Regions from separate parts of the Homo sapiens genome. Here region 2 is linked to region 1. The links are contacts of gene promoters, found by promoter capture Hi-C in human tissues and cell types (Jung and others, 2019). All regions are on one chromosome and are shown on one strand. The core of a region is centred on a gene start or on the middle of the fragment in contact, and the rest is flanking DNA. Distances in the headings are between cores, read along the strand shown. Region 1 holds the start of OR5L2 (olfactory receptor family 5 subfamily L member 2). Region 2 has its middle 9.4 kb from the start of OR5D3.

The links. The method cuts DNA at HindIII sites, captures the fragments that hold promoters and counts their contacts. A contact is called where the count stands out against the background at its distance.
Region 2: a contact is called between a fragment that was not itself captured here and the fragment with the promoter of OR5L2 in region 1, in 3 of the 25 tissues and cell types used here (adrenal gland, aorta and pancreas).

Annotation. Positions count from the first base shown.
Region 1 is chr11:55,824,042-55,829,734 of GRCh38, reverse strand. It overlaps OR5L2 (olfactory receptor family 5 subfamily L member 2), which reads right to left and starts at 2,516. Exons shown (of 1, transcript NM_001004739.1): 1 at 1,581-2,516. The coding sequence starts at 2,516. The coding sequence ends at 1,581. The HindIII fragment of the contact is 3,304 bases long and covers 1,034-4,337 here.
Region 2 is chr11:55,730,306-55,736,123 of GRCh38, reverse strand. No RefSeq gene overlaps it. Among named protein-coding and RNA genes, the nearest start is that of OR5D3, 9.4 kb to the right of the region's middle. The HindIII fragment of the contact is 4,292 bases long and covers 1-4,207 here.

The DNA.
Region 1 (5,693 bases), core at 1,267-3,766:
TAACATTTCATGAATTAGATCCTGCAGAGCATTTGTTTTCCTAAGTAGACCATGACTGCTAGAACATTCGTGACAATGTGGACCAACTCACAGTTCTTGAAGTCTCTCGAAATGTAATCTGCATAGTAATCCCAATATGCTTACCATAAATTCACCAATATCTACTCATCCATGCATTTCATAAAAATAAAAGATTTTTTAAAAACTTCTCATATGCCACTGATGATGAAGTAGATAAAAAGTTAAATAAACCCCAAGCTTCAATGACTTCATTTAGATATACACTGAGTCTCTTCCTGATGTCAGTAAGTACACATATGCTATGAAATTTTAATCTCAATAAAATTCCATGAGGTTAAAACTATTATCCAATGCTAAAACAAAGGAAACTGAGGACCAAATAAGTTAAATTACTTGACAAATTAAAAAACCAGGGTCAAAACACCAATCTCGGTTTTGAAAAACTCAAACCTATTGCTTTTCTAATATTATTACAGACACAAAGAGAGAAGTTTAATTTAAACAAGTAAATAAAATGAGGAAATTGACATAAGTCGTAATGGAATCACAAATAAAGCATTAATGGTGCATATAATTCAACAGGGAATTAAGAAATGTGGTTTAGGTACATATGGAAAGAATACAATAAAAGAAAGTTAAGCCAAAAAAAAAAGAACACATGCAAAGAACATGAGCAGAGGTTAAAAGTCATAAGTGTCAGTAAGCATCTCTTCATCAATAGATTTTAGGGTTAGTATGAAGATAAGCAGTAAAGATAAAGTGAGAGAAGAGGGTTAATTCAGAAATGCTGTGATTCATAACAATGGTTCTAAATTATTATCTGTACATATTTATATTATATATGTGTGTGTGTGTGTGTGTGTGTGTGTGTGTGTGTGCGTAATGTAGGTAGAGAGAGAGACAACTAATAATTATGTTCCAGGGATTATTCTAAGCTCTTTTTATGTGATTCCAGCTTCCTTAATGCAATTTCCCTAGAGTCCGCTGCAATTATTATTTTCGTCATCTATCAAATCACATAGTACCCAAAATTTCAATGACATTGTACACTGCAACAGCAGAAACAAAATAATGAAGAATAAAACAAGAAACATAAAAAATCAAACAATGACAAACACATATATATGCATAGATATATGGAATTCTCATTCTGTACACACTTTGACGATGGTGTAATCGTCATTATAAATAATGGAAATTTTATTTGTAAAAGAATCATAGTTTCCATAAATGGATACTGAAATAAAGTGTAACTCCTCTGAGTTCTTCACTAGATTTGTGAAGGTTTTACAGAAAACTAAATGTTTGTATCTTAATAATGTTGTGGCTCATATCCATTTAAAACATCACAAATTTATTTTTATAAAAGTTGGCTGCAAATTTTGAAATATGTTCAATCCTATTAGTTTAAATTTAAGAGAAACAAAGATAAGTGAATCAAAAAAGGATCCCTCATAACTACTGAGCTCCTTCTTCTCTCTACTCCAACACTGCACCCCTCCTACGAACCTTCACTTGCCACAACTTGGGGATCCTGAATTCTGTGAATAAAATCTTCCCTAGGAGTGAATTTTGGAGCCCATCACTTTTCTGAGAGCTTTGTTCACATCCTTATTTCTCAGGCTGTAGATCAGGGGGTTCAGCATGGGAATCACAACTGTGTAGAACACGGTGGCCACTTTGTCAACATCTCCACTGTTGCCTGAACTCGGCCTGCAATAAATGTAAAGGATTGTTCCATGGGAGACAGTGATGGCTGTGAGGTGGGAGGCACAGGTGGAGAAAGCTTTGTGCCTGCTCTCTGCAGAGTGTATCTTCAGGATAGTGGTGAGAATTAGCAGGTAGGAGGTGAGGATGATCATGATGGTAACACTCTCATTCAAAGTGGCCACCAGGAACAGCAGTGTCTCATTCACAGTGACATCAGAGCAAGCAAGACTTAGGAGAGGGGGTAGATCACAGAAGAAGTGGTTAATCACATTAGATCTATAGAAGAGGATCCTAAGAGCTAAGGACGAGTGAATCAGAGAACACACCGTCCCACAGAAGTAGCAGCAAGAGGTCAGCTCCACACGCAGCTTCTGAGACATGGTCACCATGTACAGCAGGGGGTTACAGATGGCCACAAAGCGGTCATAGGCCATCACGGCCAGCAGGAAGACCTCAGTGACTCCACATGTGCAAAACAAGTAGAATTGCACCATGCACCCTAGGAAGGAGATGGCTTTGTCCTTGTTAAAGATATTAGCCAACATCTTTGGCACAATTATTGAGGAGTAGCAGAAATCTACAAAGGACAAGTGGCTGAGGAAAAAGTACACGGGGGTGTGGAGCCGAGAGCTGACCTGAATCAGTGCAGTCATGCCCAGATTGGCTAACAACGTGACTCCATAGATGAGAAGGAACAGCAGGAAGAGGCAGACTCTCAACTCAGGGACATCTGATAGTCCAAGGAGAATGAACTCAGCCACAGTGGTGCAGTTTTCCTTGCCCATGTCTCCAATTTATGCAGGATTAGAGGAGAAAAAAACCTAAAACTTATTCTCCATTATATAGTCTAAATTTTAGTTTTGGGTGTATCCTGTAAAAAGATATCAGAAGAAGTAGGATAGCTAATTTTTATCAGCAAAGAACAGAAATTTTGGGAAATCTGAAAAAGTTCAACATTGTATAATACAAATGCATAAAACATACAGTTTAATTCAAAGATCAAACAAAAACATTGGCATTTAAAAAACTTATAGAATTCTTTTAATTAATCTTTCTCAGTTGAGACATTGGCACAGAATCATTAGGAAAGAGGTAAAGTTGTTTAATTTGCCTTATGATTATATCAAAATCAAATCCCCTTTTCCTAGCTTACTCCAAATATTGAGATCCTAGAAAATAATGCTTAGAATATATGGTACCCCTCTCTGAATTTTCCACTACAGTGATGGGGAGATATACTTAATTAAGATGTTAATTCACAAGTGTTTATATTTTATTGATATATTTTAGATGAAGAAGCTCATTTTATTGTGTGTATTATCTTTTTTTCTATAAAATTAGCCTGGTGATTTGGTTAATTACACTCTTCAATGTTGGCCATGGTTCAGGGAATTGGTACTCTTGAGCACAACTTATTGTAACTATGACTGTTCAGTCCTAAAACATTTATTTGTTAAATAAATTTACTGCTTTCAATCTATTTGAAGAATTGATCAAAGATGTGCATAGAAAATGATTAAGAAAAACACCCACTACTGCATTGAACTATTATTTGTAATATTAAAAGTTAGAAATAAAATATAAAATAAGAGACGTGGTCACAAATGTAGTATATATAATGGAAATGCTTGCAGTTATAAAAAGGATAAGACTGCGATAAATGATAAAATGGAAAGTTATAATACAGTCAGATTGAACATAAAGAATGTTATATAATAATGTATAATATAAATATATGTATTTATTCTACTCACACACATAAGCTGCATCATATATTTAATCTGTGCAACATCAATGAGCATAAATATTTATTTCAAAAAAATAGATAAACTTACCTGATTCCTCACAAAACATCATTATGATGGAGTGGAATGGGGGAAAAGGATGGAATTTTTAAAATTAGGGACACATACTTTCCAAATCTTCAACACACAGCAAGTGTAAAGTGAGGGTGAGAAGCTTCCTATTCTCTCTCCCTGACCCTTGATAGATGCACACATCATTGTAGAGGCACGAGCTGAGCACTCTGGGCAGAAAAGAATCTGGACTGGAGACCAACAGAGCCAGGTATTTTTCCCATTCTTCAACTGATTTCAAAGATATACAGGAGGCATATAACTAAATGCTAGATTGAAAATTACTAAAATGTTCTGAAGATAAGATTTTCTCTCTTAAAATGACCAGGAGAAGTATGTTACATGTCCTTCCCCAAGATCAAACTAGTACATACTTTCAAAAACCCCTTCCTGTTTTCAAATATAAAGAAAAAAATCAAGCTGTTAATTGCCCATAGAGCAGTGTTTCTTTGTCAGGAGTGACTTGAATCCCAGTGGAATATTTGTCAATGTCTGGAGACATTTTTGGTTGTTACAAGAGGAAGGGGGTGCTATTGACATGTAGAGGGGACGCTGCCAAACACTCTCCAATGACCTCTACAAAGCACATGAAGGTCCCTGCCCACAGCACACACAACAAAACATTATCTGGACCAACATTTTAATGGTGCCTTATTTGAGAAACCTGCCATAGAGAGACATTTCAAAGTGATTTGCACAAAGACAAAATAATTCCTCTTCTTTCTGCTTCAGAGGTGGTTCTCATGTCCATGTCCCTCCATGAACAGTCCCGTGGGCCTCCTACTGCCACCCTCAGCACTAGGATGACTGTTAGGAAAATCTCCATGCAGTCTTAACCAAGTCGCATGGACAGAGTTAGTGTAATAGAGGGGAGAGAGGGAAGGATAGAGAAAACAAGTGCTTATGCCAATGTCTTCACACTGCTTTACATCTCACACTAATAGCTGTTATAAGATGTTTGGTTTTACAGATTAAATAGTTCCCACTTCCCACCAAAATTGTCCCCTAATACACAATGAGAAAAATATTGTCATCAAGGAGTGCTCAAACCATGGCATTTAAAAAAACATTATCTGATTAAGAGAGGGATAAAACACAGACTTAAAAATTATCTAATACCATTACCATCCTTTTGAATTCCCCTTCTGGAGTGTATGACTATAATAAGCTACCTCCATGAGGAAAACACATCAGGCTTCCAGCCCCCAGAAAATATAGTTTATGCTCATTCCAAAAAATACAAAATGTAGTTCAACCAACCATCCTATTGGAAAGACATTGCTTTTCCTTTCTGAAGATGCTATGATGAAAAATATTATGTGTTTTGTATTTTGTGTGTGTGTGTGTGTGTGTGTGTGTGTGTGTGTGTGTGTCCCTGGGGCCCATGTTTCATAAGCTTCCCAAAACAATCACTGATCTCTGTGGGATATCAAATGGGTATCAAGGAAACCATCCTATCCTGGGACTCCAACAATTATTGACCACTATGGAATATAAACAGGGTGAGAAAAAATCCAACTTGGTACATATTATTATAATGTAACACAATTACATTCAGACTTCATGTAAATTGCATAACATTGTATGCCACATCCAAGCATTGCCTCTGTGAGCCAGTACTCACATTGCCATTTCATGTTATGAAATTATATAAATAGGCATTATAAAATTTGTTTCACACTCAAAAGCTCCTACCTAAAGGGCATAGAGTCTGAAACCACACCAGAGATCCTCCAAATACCAGAAAGGGGTGGGGATAAGGAGTCCCTTTTACTAAGAATACTAATAATTGCTGATACTAATACTAATAATTTACTGAGTACTGCTCATGTACCAGATACTATTCTAAATACAATTATGAACACATTTTATCTTCATAAAACTGGTTGACATTAGTACTGTTATTTCCCCTTTCAAAATAAGGTTATAGAGGCACAGCAGGTGTAACTCACCCACAGTCACACATAGAATCCCTGATAGAGACAGGTCAAGTGTGGCTTTTTGGCTTGTGCCATCTGTGCAACCATAAGGAAGAGCAGAGCTCCAGAGTGGTACCGGGGGTGCAGACTCCCTATTCAATGCTAGTGGCCATTAAATGGGAATATC
Region 2 (5,818 bases), core at 812-3,311, 93 kb after region 1:
TCTCACTTGCCTCACCTTTGCGATGATCTAACTACTGAGCTTCAGAAAAATTCCTTAGGCAAAACAATGATGATTTGGACAGTAAGAGATTGGACAGTATTTTAGTTATTTAACTAATATTTATTTTCTTCCATAATTTATGAAGATCAGGAATTCAGAAGCAGGTGAGGTGGGTGGTTCTGGCTGAAAGTCTCTTCAGAACTGTGGTAAACTTATGGCTCAATAAGGTTGGAGATTCCACCTTTATACTCACTTCCATGATTATTGGCAGTTCCTCACTGGCTATTCACCAGAAGCTTCGGTTCCTTCCCATGCTTCTCAAAAGGGCAGATCAAAGCATGGCTATTTGCTTATTCCAGATGAGGGATTCAAGAGAACACACAAGCTGGAGACCTTTGTGAGCCAATCTCCCATTGACACACTGGCACTTTTGCAGTATGCTATTGGTTACCCAATCTAGGAGGGGACTACACAAGGGTACTAACCGTGTATTTTATGTTCTATATTCTGATGCTTTGACATCTTGGGCCTTGTGAACCCTGGAGGGATGGGCCCACCCATGGTCTGCCAATTCTTAGAGACGATAAACAACTCACCCTAGAGTTGCAAACTAACAAATCCACAACCACTGCTCAGGTCACCTCCTCTACCAGGCACTCATGCTCTGGGCCATTATCCTCCTTCCTAAATCATCCCTAGGGCCAGGCACTAGACACCTAGGGAAAGCCTCTAGACACAAGGGCCTGCTGAAATTATTCAAGCTAGCCAATTGCAAGTCCGTTCAGCAGTTCCTTTGTAAAGATCCCTGCTCATATTTCACCGGGCGCGGTGGCTCACGCCTGTAATCCCAGAATTTTGGGAGGCCCAGGTGGGCTGATCACTTGGAGTCAGAAGTTTGAGACCAGCATGGCCAACATGGTGAAACCCCAACTCTACTACAAATACACAAAATTAGCCTAGCGTGGTGGCAAGCACCTGTAATCCCAGCTACTCTGGAGGCTGAGGCAGGAGAATCGCTTGAACCTGGGAGGCAGAGATTGCAGTGAGCTGAGATTGTGCCGTTGCACTCCAGCCTGGGAACAGAGCAAGACTCCATCTCAAAAAAAAAATTCTTGTCATATTTCCCCTCACTCCTTCCACTTCTGGACCAACCCTGGTGCTTGTTTGTGTAGCCCTGTGGAACATGTCATGCCTCCTCTTTCTAGGGATCTGTAAGTATAATAAAATTTTTCTTTTAACACAATCATGTCAATGTCTCTATATTTTACCATACCTGATTAAAACAGATCTTGGGGACCTTTCAAACAAATGGATCATTACAAGAAAGTAGAAATTATTGGGTGCCATTTTGGGGATGCTACATGATGCCTTCTGATCTACAATGACTCTTGTCCCTTCGCCACATAAAAAAAACACTCAAATCTTCCCAAGGGCCCAAATGCCTTATTCCACCACAGCATTTTGTTAAAGTTGACAATATGTAATCACCATCAGGACCAAATATAAAGGAAGCTCCATGGATGTATTGTCTTAATTAGAGGTTCTCAAGTCCAGTTTCTCTCAACCTATGAAACTAAGGAGACAAGTAACGGTTACTCTATAAACCTAGCATACAATGTTGGTACTGGTAAGAGATATTGCTATAAACATTCTGGTTCAACATATGCAAAGGAATTACTCATCCATTGGAATTCTGAAGTCCAGCCAGGGAAATTTAGAAATTTCTTTGGTTAAATTGCAAAATCTGGGAATAATTAGCCTAATTAGTCTCGGTTCCTTAGCTCTCACCTCTGGACTTTTGGTACCACGGTCTGAATCATCCTTTCTTCTCATGAAATGTGGGACATATTTGCAACTTAGCAGGTTTCTTAGCTTGTTTTCTTCTAATAGAATTTTGATAACTCATAGGCCCCTTTCAATTTTTTTCAGTCACTGTGTCTTTCAATTTAAGGTAGTGATCTCTCTCTCTCTCTCTCTGTGTGTGTTTGTGTATATATGTGTGTGTGTGTGTATACATGTACACATATATACATAAATGAACTTTGTGGATCTTCTATGAATCTTATTGAATTCCACTATATTAGAGATAAAAACACATCCTTAAGTCTTTTAGATATAAGTCTTTCCCTACCTTGGGCTTCTATGAGATGGCTCAGAGATGGCACACTTAAGGTTCCTAAAAGCCTTGTTGTTGATAGAGGAGGTGGAGCACTTTTAATCTCTTTTGAGAGTCTTTTGTGTGAATATACTCTGAGATACCACTTTAGATCTTTCTGAGGTTTTTCTATTTTTTTTTAAGATTTTATAGTCAAATCCTAGACTTCATCTTTAAATCATGTTTTCACAGCAATGCCATGGATTTGATCATCCTTGGAAACCATTTCTTAATTTTGCCAACTTTTCCCATTATGGGAGGCTAAGAGATTTCATAGCCATCAAATCCTGGATCTTTCAACATTAATAATTTAGTTTGTTTCTTGCCTCTAATGCCTTACTCTAATCTTCAAGGAGAAACCAGGTAGAACTTTAAACATTTCACTTAGAAAATATCTGTTGTTAGATAACCCAGAATATTAGGCACATTTTGTACTTTTCAAATTACTATAGGCAATAGCATTACTAAACATCTGCCCTACATAACAAGAATATTCCTTTCTACAACTTCCAATAATATTTTTCTCACTCACCTGGAATCTCTAAACTGTAATCTTATCAAAGACCTCCAAAACATATTAAGATTTCAATGATATTTTGTTCAAAACTGACTGCTCATTTCCAAAGCCACCTTAACATCTTGGGTTTTTATTTGGCAACAATATATTCCCAGGCACCAAAAATCCACTGATATAGTTTGACTCTGCGTCCCCACCCAACTCTCATGTCGATTGTGATCCTCAGTGTTGCAGGAGGGACCTGGTAGGTGATTCACAGAGGCGGACTTCCCCCTTGCTGTTCTCCTGATGGTAAATGAGTTCTCAGAAAATCTGGTGGTTTAAAGTGTGTACACTTCCCCTTTTACTCTGTCTCTCCTGCCAGCCATGAGAAGACATTCCTGCTTCCTCTTCACCTTTCTGCCATGATTGAAAGTTTCCTGAGGCCTCCTTAGACCTGCCTCCTGTACACCCTGTGAACTGTATGTCAATTAAACCTCTTTTCTTCATAAATCACCAAGTCTCAAGGTAGTTCTTGATAGAAGTGTGAGAACTGACTAATACAGTTGCATTAATTATTCATTGACAGCTAAAAAGTATCCCCAAAACTTCGCAGTTTGAAACAATAAACACTGATTACCTCATGGTTTCTATGCATCAGAAATCCAGGAGCAGCTTAGCTCCAAGTTTAGAGTCTCCCATGAGGTTGCAACCAGCCTTCCAGAGCTACAGTAATCTCAAGGCTTAAACAATGTCAAACTTCTGCATCCAAGCTCACTCACAAGGTTGCTGGCACCTCTTGTTCCTTGAAGGCTGTTGGCCAGAAGCTTAGGTTCCTCATCCCAAAGGTCCCTTCACAGGGTTATTCAAATATGGCCACTTCCTCCCGAATGAGAGACCTAATGTAGGTGGAAAAAGACAGAGAGAGAGAATCCAGACTGTTAAGACTGAACCTCAAGTATTATGTATTCTCATTCCTACCACATGCTATTCATCACACAGACCAAGCCAGGTAAAGTATGGGAGGAGACTCCACAATGATGTGAATACCAGAGAATGGGATCATTGGGGGTTCCATGTATGGCTGACTACCACAATCACTGGGAGTAAAATTCAAAAGATAGAGGTGGGACAATAAGAGTGTCTGGTAAGGAATTATGCAAGAGAGGCAAGCTGAAGGTTACTTTTTGAATGGTTTGCGACAGCTTACTCAAGTGTGATATGTGTTGCCTCCATAACTGAAAGACGCAGTACATTTTAAATCACTTAATTGCAGTACAAATTGCCCTAAGTTGTCATTTGCTTTGGAGAGGATATCTCAACATTCTGCAGAACACAAGATCAAAAGAATTCTTTTCTGATGTTAAGAATACTTGTATTTTTATAGGATTTATTTAAGACATCATCTCTGACACATCAGTTTCTCACTAAGAAATTGAGGACACTTGCCCAGTGTCTTAAATATCTCTAGTTCTCTGACAGTAAATTATGCCAACATTTGGATGCCCTGAATTTTTATTATCTTTTTGCAAGCTCTCCCAGGCATTCAGAAGATCCCAGTTCTTGTAATCACCACCACTTCCATGACAGTTTTGTGAAACCCCCACCTCAGTCCTCCAGGCATTTGATTCAGTGAGCACTTCATTATAATCATGCACAAAGGATTATTTAGTTAGCCACGTTACTATACACCATGGATTACTGAATACAATTTCTATTTTAAAGATGCTTAGCCCTGTCTTCACGGCCAAGTGTATGATTAGATACCCATATTTGAAGGTCTAGTTCAGAGAACATTATTACCAAGAGTCTGAGTCTATTCGAGAAAAACACAATCTTTTCTAGGGATTTCAAAACATAACATTTAGTACAGAAAAATTATTTTTACAATTGTTAAACAATTGATGAAAAGGCAAAAACCCCACAAAACCTTAATATACCACAGTAGTGGTTACTGCAGAAAAGAACTACTATCTCTAAAGCTGAGGGATGCTGGGATTAATACAATGTGGAAGGATGTAGACAGATATCACAGATCTAGGAAAAAAAATGTTAATTATCTTACATTGAGAGATCTTTTACATTCCCTTACTAACTCTAATTGGTTTTGATAGATCTTTTTGGATTTGGATGTTCATACAATTATATTATCTTAAAACATGAAAGTGTTATTCTGTCTTCACTAATGTTCTTTTTTTCCTGTCTTACTCAATTGTCTAGAACAACCTTTCCACAGAAGTGGAAATAATGAACATTCTTCTCTTGAGTTGAAATTTAAAACAAAGCTTCTATTATTTCTTTTCTCTTTTTTGTTGTTTTTTCATTTTGTTTTGCTTTTTTTTGAGACAGAGTCTCACTCTGTCTCCAGGCTGGAGTGCAGTGGTGCGATCTCGGCTCACTGAAACCTCCAACTCCCTGGTTCAAGCCATTCTCCTGCTTCAGCCTCCTGAGCAGCTGGTATCACAAGCACACACCACCACGCCCAGCTAATTTTTGTATTTTTAGTAGAGACGGAGTTTTGCCATGTTGGCCAGGATGGTCTCAATCTCCCGACTTTGTGATCCGCCCACCTCGGCCTCCCAAATTGCTGGGATTACAGGCAGGAGCCACTGCACCTAGCCGATTATTTTAACCTTAATTGTGATATTTACCTACAGATTTGGTAGGTAAAAGATTAAGACATTTCTATTTCTATTTTTCTGGGAGCTTTTGTTTTCTTCTGTTTTGTTTTATTATGAACAAGTGCATAAAAGTTAATTGTATGCATCAATTAACTGGGCCACAGGGTGCCCAGATATTCAGTCAAACATTATTATGGATGTTTTTATAAGGGTGTTTTTGGATGAGATTAACAACTAAATCAATCAGTAGCCTAAGTAAAGTAGATTGCCTTTGCTAATGGGGATGGGACGCGTCCATCAGTAAATGCCTGAGTCTAACAAAAGGCTACTTCTCTCCCAAGCAAAGGAAAATTCTTTCCTCTTTCTGCCTTTGAACTGAGACATTAGGTGTTTGCCTATAGACTGAAACTGGAACATCAGCTCTTCATGGGTCTCAAAACTGTTGACCTTCTGACTGGAAATACACCCCTGGCTCTCTAGTTCTTGGGCCTTCCAAATTAGACTAGAATTTCATCATTGGCTCCCCTGGGATCCAGCTTGCTAATT